Linked DNA regions of Homo sapiens: regions 1, 2 and 3 are each linked to region 4. The links are contacts of gene promoters, found by promoter capture Hi-C in human tissues and cell types (Jung and others, 2019). All regions are on one chromosome and are shown on one strand. Each heading gives the region's core, a stretch centred on a gene start or on the middle of the fragment in contact. The rest is flanking DNA. Distances are from core to core; before and after follow the strand shown.

Evidence for each region. Contacts are between HindIII fragments. The study calls those that stand out against the background at their distance.
Region 1: a contact is called between a fragment that was not itself captured here and the fragment with the promoter of CACNA2D1 in region 4, in 1 of the 25 tissues and cell types used here (hippocampus).
Region 2: a contact is called between a fragment that was not itself captured here and the fragment with the promoter of CACNA2D1 in region 4, in 2 of the 25 tissues and cell types used here (heart left ventricle and hippocampus).
Region 3: a fragment that was not itself captured here is called in contact with the fragment with the promoter of CACNA2D1 in region 4 in 2 of the 25 tissues and cell types used here (dorsolateral prefrontal cortex and hippocampus).

Annotation. Positions count from the first base shown.
Region 1 is chr7:82,025,664-82,028,363 of GRCh38, reverse strand. All of the region lies in intron 12 of CACNA2D1 (calcium voltage-gated channel auxiliary subunit alpha2delta 1), which reads left to right. It overlaps CACNA2D1-AS1 (CACNA2D1 antisense RNA 1), which reads right to left. Exons shown (of 4, transcript NR_110077.1): 4 at 1-709. Among named protein-coding and RNA genes, the nearest start is that of CACNA2D1-AS1, 18 kb to the right of the region's middle. The HindIII fragment of the contact is 4,274 bases long and covers 1-2,700 here.
Region 2 is chr7:82,147,921-82,150,641 of GRCh38, reverse strand. The region is part of intron 4 of CACNA2D1 (calcium voltage-gated channel auxiliary subunit alpha2delta 1); the gene reads left to right. Among named protein-coding and RNA genes, the nearest start is that of CACNA2D1-AS1, 140 kb to the right of the region's middle. The HindIII fragment of the contact is 3,987 bases long and covers 1-2,721 here.
Region 3 is chr7:82,130,013-82,132,712 of GRCh38, reverse strand. The region is part of intron 5 of CACNA2D1 (calcium voltage-gated channel auxiliary subunit alpha2delta 1); the gene reads left to right. Among named protein-coding and RNA genes, the nearest start is that of CACNA2D1-AS1, 120 kb to the right of the region's middle. The HindIII fragment of the contact is 9,170 bases long and covers 1-2,700 here.
Region 4 is chr7:82,442,452-82,445,193 of GRCh38, reverse strand. It overlaps CACNA2D1 (calcium voltage-gated channel auxiliary subunit alpha2delta 1), which reads left to right and starts at 1,417. Exons shown (of 39, transcript NM_000722.4): 1 at 1,417-1,829. The coding sequence starts at 1,735. RefSeq lists an enhancer at 2,412-2,742. The HindIII fragment of the contact is 9,545 bases long and covers 1-2,742 here.

The DNA of each region.
Region 1 (2,700 bases), core at 87-2,586, 420 kb after region 4:
ACATTGTCAGTGAGCAATAATTTTTTTTTAACATATGTTTCAATAGTGGGCTCAAAATATTCAGTAAACCATGCTGTAAACAGATGTGCTGTCATCCAGGCTTTGTTGGTTCATTTGCAGAGCATAAGCAGAGTAGATTTAGCATAATTCTTAAGGACCCTGAGATTTTTGGAATGGTAAAAGAGCACTGGCTTCCACTTAAAGTCACCAAGTGCATTAGCTACTAAGAAGAAAGTCAGCCTGTCCTTTGAAGCTTTGAAGCAGGCAATAACTTCTCCTTTTTAGCTATGAAAGTCCTAGATAAAATTGTCTTCAAATACAAGGCTGTTTTCTCTACATTGAAAATCTGTTGTTTATTATAGTGGCCTTCACCAGTGATCTTAGCTACATCTTCTGGATAACTTGCTGCAGCTTCTACATCAGCACTTGCTGCTTCACCTTGCACTTTTATGTTATAGAGATGCCTTTTTTCCTTACACCTCATGAGCCAACCTCTGCCAGCTTCAGGGACCACTGAATATAACAGTATGATATCACTATATTCACTGTATCAGATATAATGATCACTATAACAGATGTAATAATAATGAAAAAGATTAAACTATTCTAAGAATTACTAAACTGTGACAGAGACATGAAGTTAGCGTGTGCTGTTGGAAAAATGGCAACAGTGGACTTACTTGATACAGGGTTGCCACAAACCTCCAATCTGTAAAAAATGCAACAAAGAACCATGATAAAATGAGATATACCTGTACACACATATGATTATATGCATATTATTTTACAATAGAAGACCTTATACATTATTATAGGCTAAAGATGAATGAAAGGATACTCAGACAAGGAAAGCTTATAGATACAAAACTGAGAAAGGCTAATTGATAGAGATCTTGAAAAGAGGAGGGATTGAGAGAGAGATGGAACACGTTTCTGAATTTGACAAGTAGGTATTAATTTCTGGAAACATTGCTGTCCCACATTTCATATGCACTGTGAAGTTAAATGACATCCCACATTTTCTAATGTGAGAAGGCCATGTTAAATGAATAAAACGTTCATCTTGGAATTTGAGATATTTAGGTACAGGCATGCAATCACATTACATCATGGAAAATTGAGTACCCATCCCCTTAAGCATTTATCCTTTGCATTACAAAGAACCCAATTATACATTTTCATTATTTTTAAATGTACCATTATTATTTACTATATCCCTCTTGTGCTGTCAAGAACTAGGTCTTTTTCATTCTATTTTTTTGTACCCATTAATCATCTCCACCTCCCTACAAACCCCCAGCATACCCTTCTCAGCCTCTGATAACCACTATTCTCTTCTCTATCTCCTGAAGTTCAATTACTTTGATCTTTAGATCCCACAAATAAATGAAAACAAGTATTTGCATGTTCTGTGTCCACTAATAATGAGTATAAATGATAGCAGACAACCACCTTTAATTCAGTTATACTTTTGAGTATACCTGTATTTTATTAAAACAACAGCATTTGTGTAGTAATTGTTTATGCCCAGGACATATGTGTATGTGTAGAGTGCTTATATACATAAAATAGTGTACATATGTACATTATATATTTTTCACCATCTTCAAATATGGCTTCAAATGTGTGTGGATGAATTGAGGAACATGTTCTAACTTTATTGCCTGCTGTACACACACCCACCCTGTGTGAGCGATCTGCAGCCCACAGATATTAATAACAAAGATAATTGTTTATTGTTATCTAAAGTTGTGCATGCAGTACTAATTCCAGAGCCACAAAATTAATGTTACATAATACGTTTATCAACTCAGCATTTCACTTTCCACAGAAATACTATCTTTCAAATGGCCAATGTGTAAAAATGAAATTCGATAGATTTAGTAAAATATAAATGCTCAGTACTCTTAAAAATTCTATGTTTGAATGCAACTTTTTAAAAAAACTTTTTTTAAATAAGTTCACATGTAACTTTAAAATATCAAAATGACAAACATAAAGGAAGAAAGAAAATACAAAAGAAAAATAAGACAGAAAATAACAAAATGACATTAATAAATTTTGTCTTATCAATAATAATTTTAAATGTAAATGAATTAAACTCCCCAGTCAAAAGACACAGAGTGGCTGAATGGATAAAAAACAAAACCACACTATATGCTGCCTATCAGAAGTTCACTTTAGATTTAAGGACACACATAGGCTAAAAGTGAAGGGATGAAAAAAGTTATTCCATGCAAATGATAACCAAAAGAAAGTATGGATAGCTACATTTATATCAGACAAAACAGGCTTTAAGTAAAAAAAAAAAAAAAACTGACACGAGACAAAGAAGGATGTTATATAATAAAAGCATCAATCCAGCAATAATATATAACAAAGATGTATGCACCCAACATCAGAACATCTAAATATATAAAGCAAACATGGACAGCACTGAAGGGGCAAATAGGCAGCAATACAATAATACTAGAAAGCTTGAATACCTCACTTTCAGTGATGGATAGAACAGCCAGACAGATGATCAATCTGGAAACAGAGGACTTGAACAACACTATAACCAAATAGACTTAAACAGATAGAGAACATTTGACCCAATAGAAATAATACACATTTTTCTCAAGTGCATATGGAACATTCTTCAGGATAGATCATACGTTAGGTCACAACAAATTCTTAACAAATTCAGATTGAAATCAT
Region 2 (2,721 bases), core at 145-2,644, 290 kb after region 4:
TGGTAGGTGCAAAGGGGTTGATTTAGGTTAGTTTGTGGATGTTTCTATTGCAAACATCTATCCTTGGAACATAGTCATTACTTTTCAGGAATAAATGAATACACCTTAACTTGACCTTTCAAGATAGAAAAAAAATGATGCAAAGGTTTTTCTTTTTTACAGTTTTACATGCTTCTACAAAAATATGTACTAGAGATTTCAATTTTTTTTTTTTTTTTTAAGGGAAAGCTTTGCTTTGTTTTCAGAATAAGAGAGATGGCTCTTTAAGTTCTGTTGGGTGCTCACATGAGAAGCAAAATAATGGCTTACTGGGGGGAAAAAAAAAGTAGATGAACCCAGCTACTAGGGTGTTTTTTTTTGTTGTTGTTTTTGTTTTTTTTTTTTAATTTGATCTAAAGCAAAGCAGTTAGTGGAAACACCAAACCTTAAAGGTGGAAGGATTCTAGAGACCGTATTTGTCAACTGAATGTTTATGTCACAGGGGAGGAACCAAAGCCTCGGGAAGCCACATTACTAACTAGTCAATGCTTAAAGCCGTTTAAGCATTTAGCCATGTGCTCAGTAAGCATTTTAAAACACTCACTGCATGCCTATAGTAGATGCTGTTGGTTCCCTGCCCACATCTCCTCAGTGCATGCACACACACATGCACACACACACACGCACATGTACACACACAGAGACACGCACATACTCTTGCTCTGTAGCCCAGGCTGGAGTGCAGTGGCGCGATCTCGGCTGACTGCAAGCTCCGCCTCCCGGGTTCACGCCATTCTCCTGCCTCAGCTTCCTGAGTAGCTGGGACTACAGGCGCCTACCACCACACCCAGCTAATGTTTTTTTTTTTGTTGTTTGTTTGTTTTTTTTTTGTATTTTTAGTAGAGACAGGGTTTTACCGTATTAGCCAGGGTGGTCTCGATCTCCTGACCTTGTGATCCGCCTGCCTTGGCCTCCCAAAGTGCTGGGATTACAGGTGTGAGCACCCGGCCAAGCACATACTCTTATAGCTTCCTCCTCTAAGCATCTGCACATCTTGGCCTTGAGGGCTTTCTCAGGTGGCCAGAATGAGCAGGAGTGAACACTCCGAGTGACAGTTGGTATGGGTGGATACTACCTGAGCCTCCTCATTCTTTGGATGTGACCGTTTTGAGTGAAATTCTATATAGCCTCCCCAGGGTTCCTAGGGAAACAGCCCCAGTTGTCTACCTGCTCTTGACCACAGCTTGTGTGCCTTGGTGTCTCACTTCTCTACTCTCCTATTGGTGTCTCCTGGGATCACCTCCCAAATAAATGATGCTCAAATCCTAGTCTCAGTGTCTATTTCTAGGTAACCAAACCTAGGACAGTGTTAAAAACCAGTCAGTGAACATCTTGTCTGTGGAATATTAAGATAATTCATCAGATGATTCAACAACCTTATGAGGGAGGCTGGCTTGTTTAGTAGTTAATGACATCTAAGCTGTGATGGGCCAGGCATTGAGCTCAAACATGGCTAAGGTGTAGTCTCTCACAGGGCTCAGGCAGGTGATCACACTATGCTGTGCTGAGTACACAGACTGAGGCAGGGAATGCAGCCGATCCTTGACCCAGATACTTGCCCATTTCATCAATACAACAAACCAGTGATGTGTAGTGACTCTTCTCTCTGATTTATAGAGTGGGGAAATACAAGAAGATTCTATGAGAGGCATTAAGAAGGGTGTCCAGCCGGGTGTAGTGGCTCACGCCTGTAATCCCAACATTTTGGGAGGCTGAGGTGAGTGGATCCCCTGAGGTCAGGAGTTTGAGACCAGCCTGGCCAACATGGTGAAACCCTGCCTCTTTTAAAAATAAAAAATTCGCTGGGCATGGTAGCAGGCACCTGCAATCCCAGCTACTCGGGAGGCTGAGGCAGGAGAATCACTTGAACCTGGGAGGCGGAGGTTGCACTGAGCCGAGATTGTGCCACTGCACTCCAGCTGGTCGACAATAGCAAAACTCCATCTCCAAAAAAACAAAAAACAAGGTTGTCCAATTTTGACATGAAGCAGGGAAGCTGGGGAGTTTTCTCTGGCAAAGAAAGCTTCCTGGATGCACCTTTATTTTACTTAATAATGAAAAGTCTTTATTCCAGACTCCTAGTAGAAAATGTGGCAAATTTCTCCCAAACACACCTCCTTTGCTCTCCCACTGTTTCCTACCTATAACTGGAGCCAGTCCATATACATGTCACTTTTAGCTCTCTCCTTCAGCTTTTCTTTTGCTCTTTCAATTTAGGAAATTCTCAATATTCCTTTTTCTAATAGGGAGGAACATCCCTTGACTTTTTTTTTTTTTTCTAACTATGCCTCATCATTTAGACTTCTTAGTTTTGTCTTATATGTAAAATCATCTGTTTTTGAAACTTACAAATCTCCTTTCTACTTTAACAAGCCTTGCTTTTAAGACTATTGCCTTATAGGAACATAATGCACTATCCGAGCTGAACAGTGATATATTTGTTTTAGCTGTTACCACTTTCACAGAATAGTGATGCCAGCATAAAGTTAATTATTCTATTTGATTATTGTTGTTAATCTCTTACTGTGCCTAATATATAAATTAAACCTTATAAGTTTGTATACATATTAATATTATCTGTATCTGCAGTGTCAGGCCTTTACTGGGGCGTCTTGGATGTTTCTCCTGGGGATGAGCAAGGAGTACTGTATATATGTGAATGTTTATTTCATAATAGACACA
Region 3 (2,700 bases), core at 127-2,626, 310 kb after region 4:
TGGATACACTGGCTAATACAGCAACTCCCTGTCTTTCCAGCCCTCAAGGTTCTTCTCCCCATTCTCTGCTTTCCTCAGTGTAGCTCTTCCATGTTGTGCTCCAAGATCGGTGTTCCAATATCCATGATTCTTTTTGCGTTCTAGATTAGAGGAGAGAGGCAAGTGACAATGGGAGACATGCCCTTTGCCTTTAGGGGCATGTCTCAGAGTTTGCATACATCACTTCTATGTGTGCCCATTGTCCACAACTTAGTGACCAGCCTTGCCTTGTTGCAAGAGGATATGGAGTACTTTTCCTCCCAACCCTTGACCCATGTGTACATACCCAACTAACATGTAGAGTTACATTACTAAAGAGAGAAGGGATAGTAATTGAGAGATCATTAATTAGCAGTTTCTGCACATATCTTCAATTTGTTCTTCTTGACATATTAAAGTTAGTGCAAACACTCTACTCATTCATCTGAGTGACTATTATCTTTTAAATATAATCAAACCCTTTGGGGGAGATAATTTTTCTATAGTAAAATGAATATAAAATTGGGTGCTGTACTGAGTTTTTTCTAATATCTCCTAATGCATTTTGATAACTAATGATCAAATTGTTTTCTGCAATAGAAATATTTACTATATTACAGTGAAAGTCAAGAACTGTAAATACATGTTGTACTTTGATATTCTAGTTAACAAGTTTCAGTATTTACATTTTTTTTAAAAAAAGATTGTTACTTATCTCATGAAGTTAGACTCCTATGGATGATGAAATTTACTCACCCTCACCAAAAGTTTTGCAGTACAGGGTGGATTTAATTGGATCTTTTGTTTACAACTTTATATATGCGTTGGCTGGTATTTTATATATCAGGTGTTCACAAATCATATCATCACATTGTTTTTGTTTGAATTTGGCTACTATCACTGTTCTTTGCTCTCACTTTTATACATGCTAGTTTAGCTATGTATTTTTATTGTTCAAATTCTACAATGTCATATTCTTCATTAAAAATTTGTCATTTGAGATTATAAAATGTAACTTTACAATCTCATACGTCTACATCAACTAATAAAACAGTGGGGCTAATTGGCATACTAACTGCTGGGATAACATTATTAATAAATTTAGTCCTCAGTATGTTTCAATGGGGATTAATATCCGAGGGCTGTTGAAAGAAATTATGGATAAATTAAATTTACCCGAGTTTATTTGTATAAAGAATGATTCATGAATCAGGCAGTACTCAAAATTAGGACAGAGCCCCACCCAGCAACATGGCCAGGCAGTATTTATAGACAGACAAAGGAAGTGATGTGTAGAAACAGCTTGATTGGTTATAGCTGGACATTTACCTTACTTGGGCATGGTGATAGCTGGGCATTTACCTTACTTGGGCATATGTAGCATTTGCCTTCTGTGGACATAATCTGATCAGTGGGCAGCCTGTGATTGGCTGAAACTCAGCTGCTATGATTAGCTGAGACTCAGTTATTAGTTACAAGAATATACTTTTAAAGTAGGTTGCAGTTTGTTAACATACTAAGTTAGGCTGCAGTTTACTGTAAAGAAATTCAAAATACAAATGTAACCTTAGGACAAATTTAGTTTATAAGAGCTGGCCGGCGCGGTGGCTCATGCCTGTAATCCCAGCACTTTGGGAGGCTGAGGCAGGCAGATCACGAGGTCAAGAGATCGAGACCATCCTGGCTAACACAGTGAAACCCTGTCTCTACTAAAAAATATTTTTTTAAAATTTAGCCAGGCATGATGGCGGGCGCCTGTAGTCTCAGCTACTTGGGAGGCTGAGGCAGGAGAGTAGCGTGAACCCGGGAGGTGGAGCTTGCAGTGAGCCGAGATTGTGCCACTGCACTCCAGCCTGGGCAACAGAGCGAGACTCTGTCTCAAAAAAAAAAAAAAAAAAAAAAAGACAAAAACAACAACAAAAAAAACAAGCACTAAATAAAGTTTCTATTTTAAATATTATACCTCCTGGGTATAACTAAAAGATTATAAATCCTGAGGCTCTGGTTATTTTAACTTTTTCACCAGTTCTGCTGGAGATGATTTGTTTTCCAACTCCTAAGACTAGTAGATTAGTGATCATTTCCAGGATTTCCTAGTACTCATATCAATCATTTCCTTTCACTGCTCTAATACAATCATCTAAGTTTAGACATTGGTCTCAAATATGTTCTTAAGAGCTATTGAAATTATCTCATTTTATGATTATAAATTTTAAATGCATTTAATTATGATACATTATTATATAAATTTATAAACATTATATTCATATATCTTTTTCCATTGTCAAGATCTTTGTCACTTATTACTGACTCTTTTTTTGATGTTTAATACCGTGCAGAAACTTTACCAGTAACTTCCCTAAGCGGAACATATAATGTTTGGCAGTGAAATGAAAGTTTCTCCTTCTTGAAGGCACAGCCAATCTTTGTGAATTATTATCTTAGGGTCCCTCAAGAGTATAAGTTCCCAGAGAGCAGCTCTTATGCACTTATAGCAGCTGATGTAACTCTTACAATATCGAGTACACATTGTAATCACTCAAACTTTCTTTCCCAATAAATCTAAGTTCATATTAAAGCTTCATTTCACACAACTGTAAAAGGAATGTTCTGAAGTATAGTTTAAGAACACGTCATAGTTATATTCTAGAATTACTTCCCCATACTTTAATTTTTAGAGAG
Region 4 (2,742 bases), core at 168-2,667:
TTGCCTTCAGAGAGCTGGAAAATTCATTTCGAATTAATAAGGGTCTTTTTCTTTCAGAAGCATCTCCTAAAAATAAGAACGGGCTAATTAAAAATCTGACAGCCACCCCGATACTTACAGAATTTTTGCATATGCAGGATAGTCATCACAAATTGTATTCTCTGCACGTCATGTCAAAAGTATTCTCATACACTACTAGAGGGAGCTTAAGAATTTAAGGTGTGCAAGAATATATTTCTATCTTTGGCCCACCAGGGCCCTCTTGTAGGAGGCCTGTGTTGGGCGGGAGAGGCCTAGTCGCAGACCCTGTCTTTTCAAGGAGAAAGCCCGCCACTGCTTCCTCTGAGTCTGGAGATAAAACCAGTCCGGCATTGCTACTCCCTAGCTCTCTCCCCCTCCCTTAATTCCTCCTCTACATTTCAGGCGCATTTCTCAGAGTGCCACCTGTTCCTGCTGCTTACCCTTTTCATGCCTTCGCATTGACAAAAGTGAGCTCACCCTGCGGTAACCTTGTCAGGCAGGGCAGGCCAGTGGCCAGAGCAGGGCGTTAGGACCCTTTTGGAGGTAGTCCCAACTGGGATGCTGCAAAGCGCTTCTCTTACTACTGTCCTCCCTAGATGCAGAATTCGTCCCTCCACCCCTCTGTCCAATGGAACCACAGGGCTGGGAAGATTTTACAGCGTCAGTACTTCTCTGTCCGTCCACAGCCCGGTCCCTGAGGCTCTGTCCTCGCCAGGTGAGCCGAGCAGTACCTGGGCGTGGGACCGCTGGCACAAAGGGCACCCAGCCCCGGCAGAGGCTCTAACCTATGGCACACGCGGGCATATAGTGCCACCTGGTAGAGAGTCAACAGTGGTGCTTTAAAATGCAATACAAACCCCTCCTACATTTGTTGTCAAATCACTTCACGATTCCCAGGCAGGCACTGGATTCTGCGCCTGGGAGTAGGGCTGGGGGGGAACGCTGCCTGCATGTGCAAAAATAACCCCCGAAGACGCGAGCCAAGTCCTGGGTTGGAGCCTCTGCAGCCTGTGGATGCCCGCTGGGCGGCTGGCCGTCCCCCGGGAGCCCCGCGGGGCTGGTCCGCTCCGCCTGCGCACGCCGGGCGGCGGGAGCGAGCCGGCGCCGACTTTGGGAGTTCCTGGCTGCCTTGTATGGAGGGCTGCTCCCGGCCCGTCTCCGCCCGACTGCTCTGACGCCCAGCCCTCCCGCTGCCCACCCCCAGCCGCCTCCCTCTGACTTGCCTAAGAAGCCAGACGGAGCCTCTCGCTTCCACAAGTCTCTCTGCCTGCCATTCCCCGATTCCTGCAGCCACCCCCACCCTCCAGCGCCGTCACCCCTCCTCCGCCCCCGCCCCCGCCTCCGCCTTCGCCTCGGCAATCGGGGGAATAAATCAGGGAGGAAACCGAGAGGGAGAGCGAGAGCGCGCGAGCGCCGGCGGGCTCGCCGAGGTCTGTTTCCAAAGTCGCCCTTGATGGCGGCGGAGGCAAGGCGGCCGCGGCGCGGAGCAGCCGACGCACGCTAGTGGGTCCGCCCGCCACCGCCCCTTCCTCGGCGTCCGCTCCCGCCCTTGCCGTCCCCCGCGCGGCTCCGCGCCTCGGGCCCCGGGCGCAGCCAGCCCTCCAGACGCCCGCGGTCCCGGCGGCGTGTGCTGCTCTTCCTCCGCCCGCGGTTTCCAGCGCCGCTCCTTCCCCCGCTTGGGCAGGGAGGGGGCATTGATCTTCGATCGCGAAGATGGCTGCTGGCTGCCTGCTGGCCTTGACTCTGACACTTTTCCAATCTTTGCTCATCGGCCCCTCGTCGGAGGAGCCGTTCCCTTCGGCCGTCACGTAAGTCGGCGGGCCGGGCAGGGAGCGCCGGCCGAGGGGCGCCGCGGGAGTTGGGGGTGGGGGTCGGTTCCCGAGTCGCGGGGCTTTTCCGCCCGTGGGGGTGGGGAGCGAGCGGCCGGGGAGCCAGGCTCGGATGCGGAGACGCCGGGCAGGCGGTGCGCGCCGCTCGCCGCTGGAATGCGTCCCGAACCGGCGTCTCGGGCGCCTCCACGGGGCCGGGCACTGGGGGCCGACTGTCCCGGGAAGCGCCCGCCGACGACTCGCGGCGTCTCAGCCCGTCTCTAACGGGATTCTCTAGACTTCAGAGTGCAGCCGTACTGGGGAAAAAAGTTTCCAGCCAGCTCACCCGCTCTGATTCAACCCAGTTCAATAAAAAGTTATGTTTTGGTTGGGTAATTTACAAACAGGTAATTTCAGGCTTGCCGAGGTAGCGTGGACTTCCCCCGCACTTGGCCTCGGAGATGCTCTTTAATTGCTGTAGTGCCCAAACTCGTTTTATCCCACGTTACTGGATGCACTTGACAGCCTTCCGATTAGACGCGTGCTGGCTCCCCGCGGCCGAGCGTGCTGTCCACGCAGGGGGCTCGCAGGTACTGGGACCACGCGATCCAACCTCCCCAACCCATTATTTGAAACATCTAAGTGTCGGCAGACACGCGGTCCCTGTTCTTCAAATGAATAGAGCCTATTCTTTGAAGGAGGGACTATTTCCAGTCTCCTACAAATTTTCTTTTATTTTTACCATTTCTAAAATAACTTTTAAAAACCTCGCTGCTGTTCTGGAAATAGAGGGCTTATAGGTAGCTATAGTCACACCACAGGAAGGGAATGAAAAATAATAATTCTCTCCTTTCTTAGCAAAATAGAATCAAACTCAATGGCACATATAAATATATACATATTTTTTAATGCA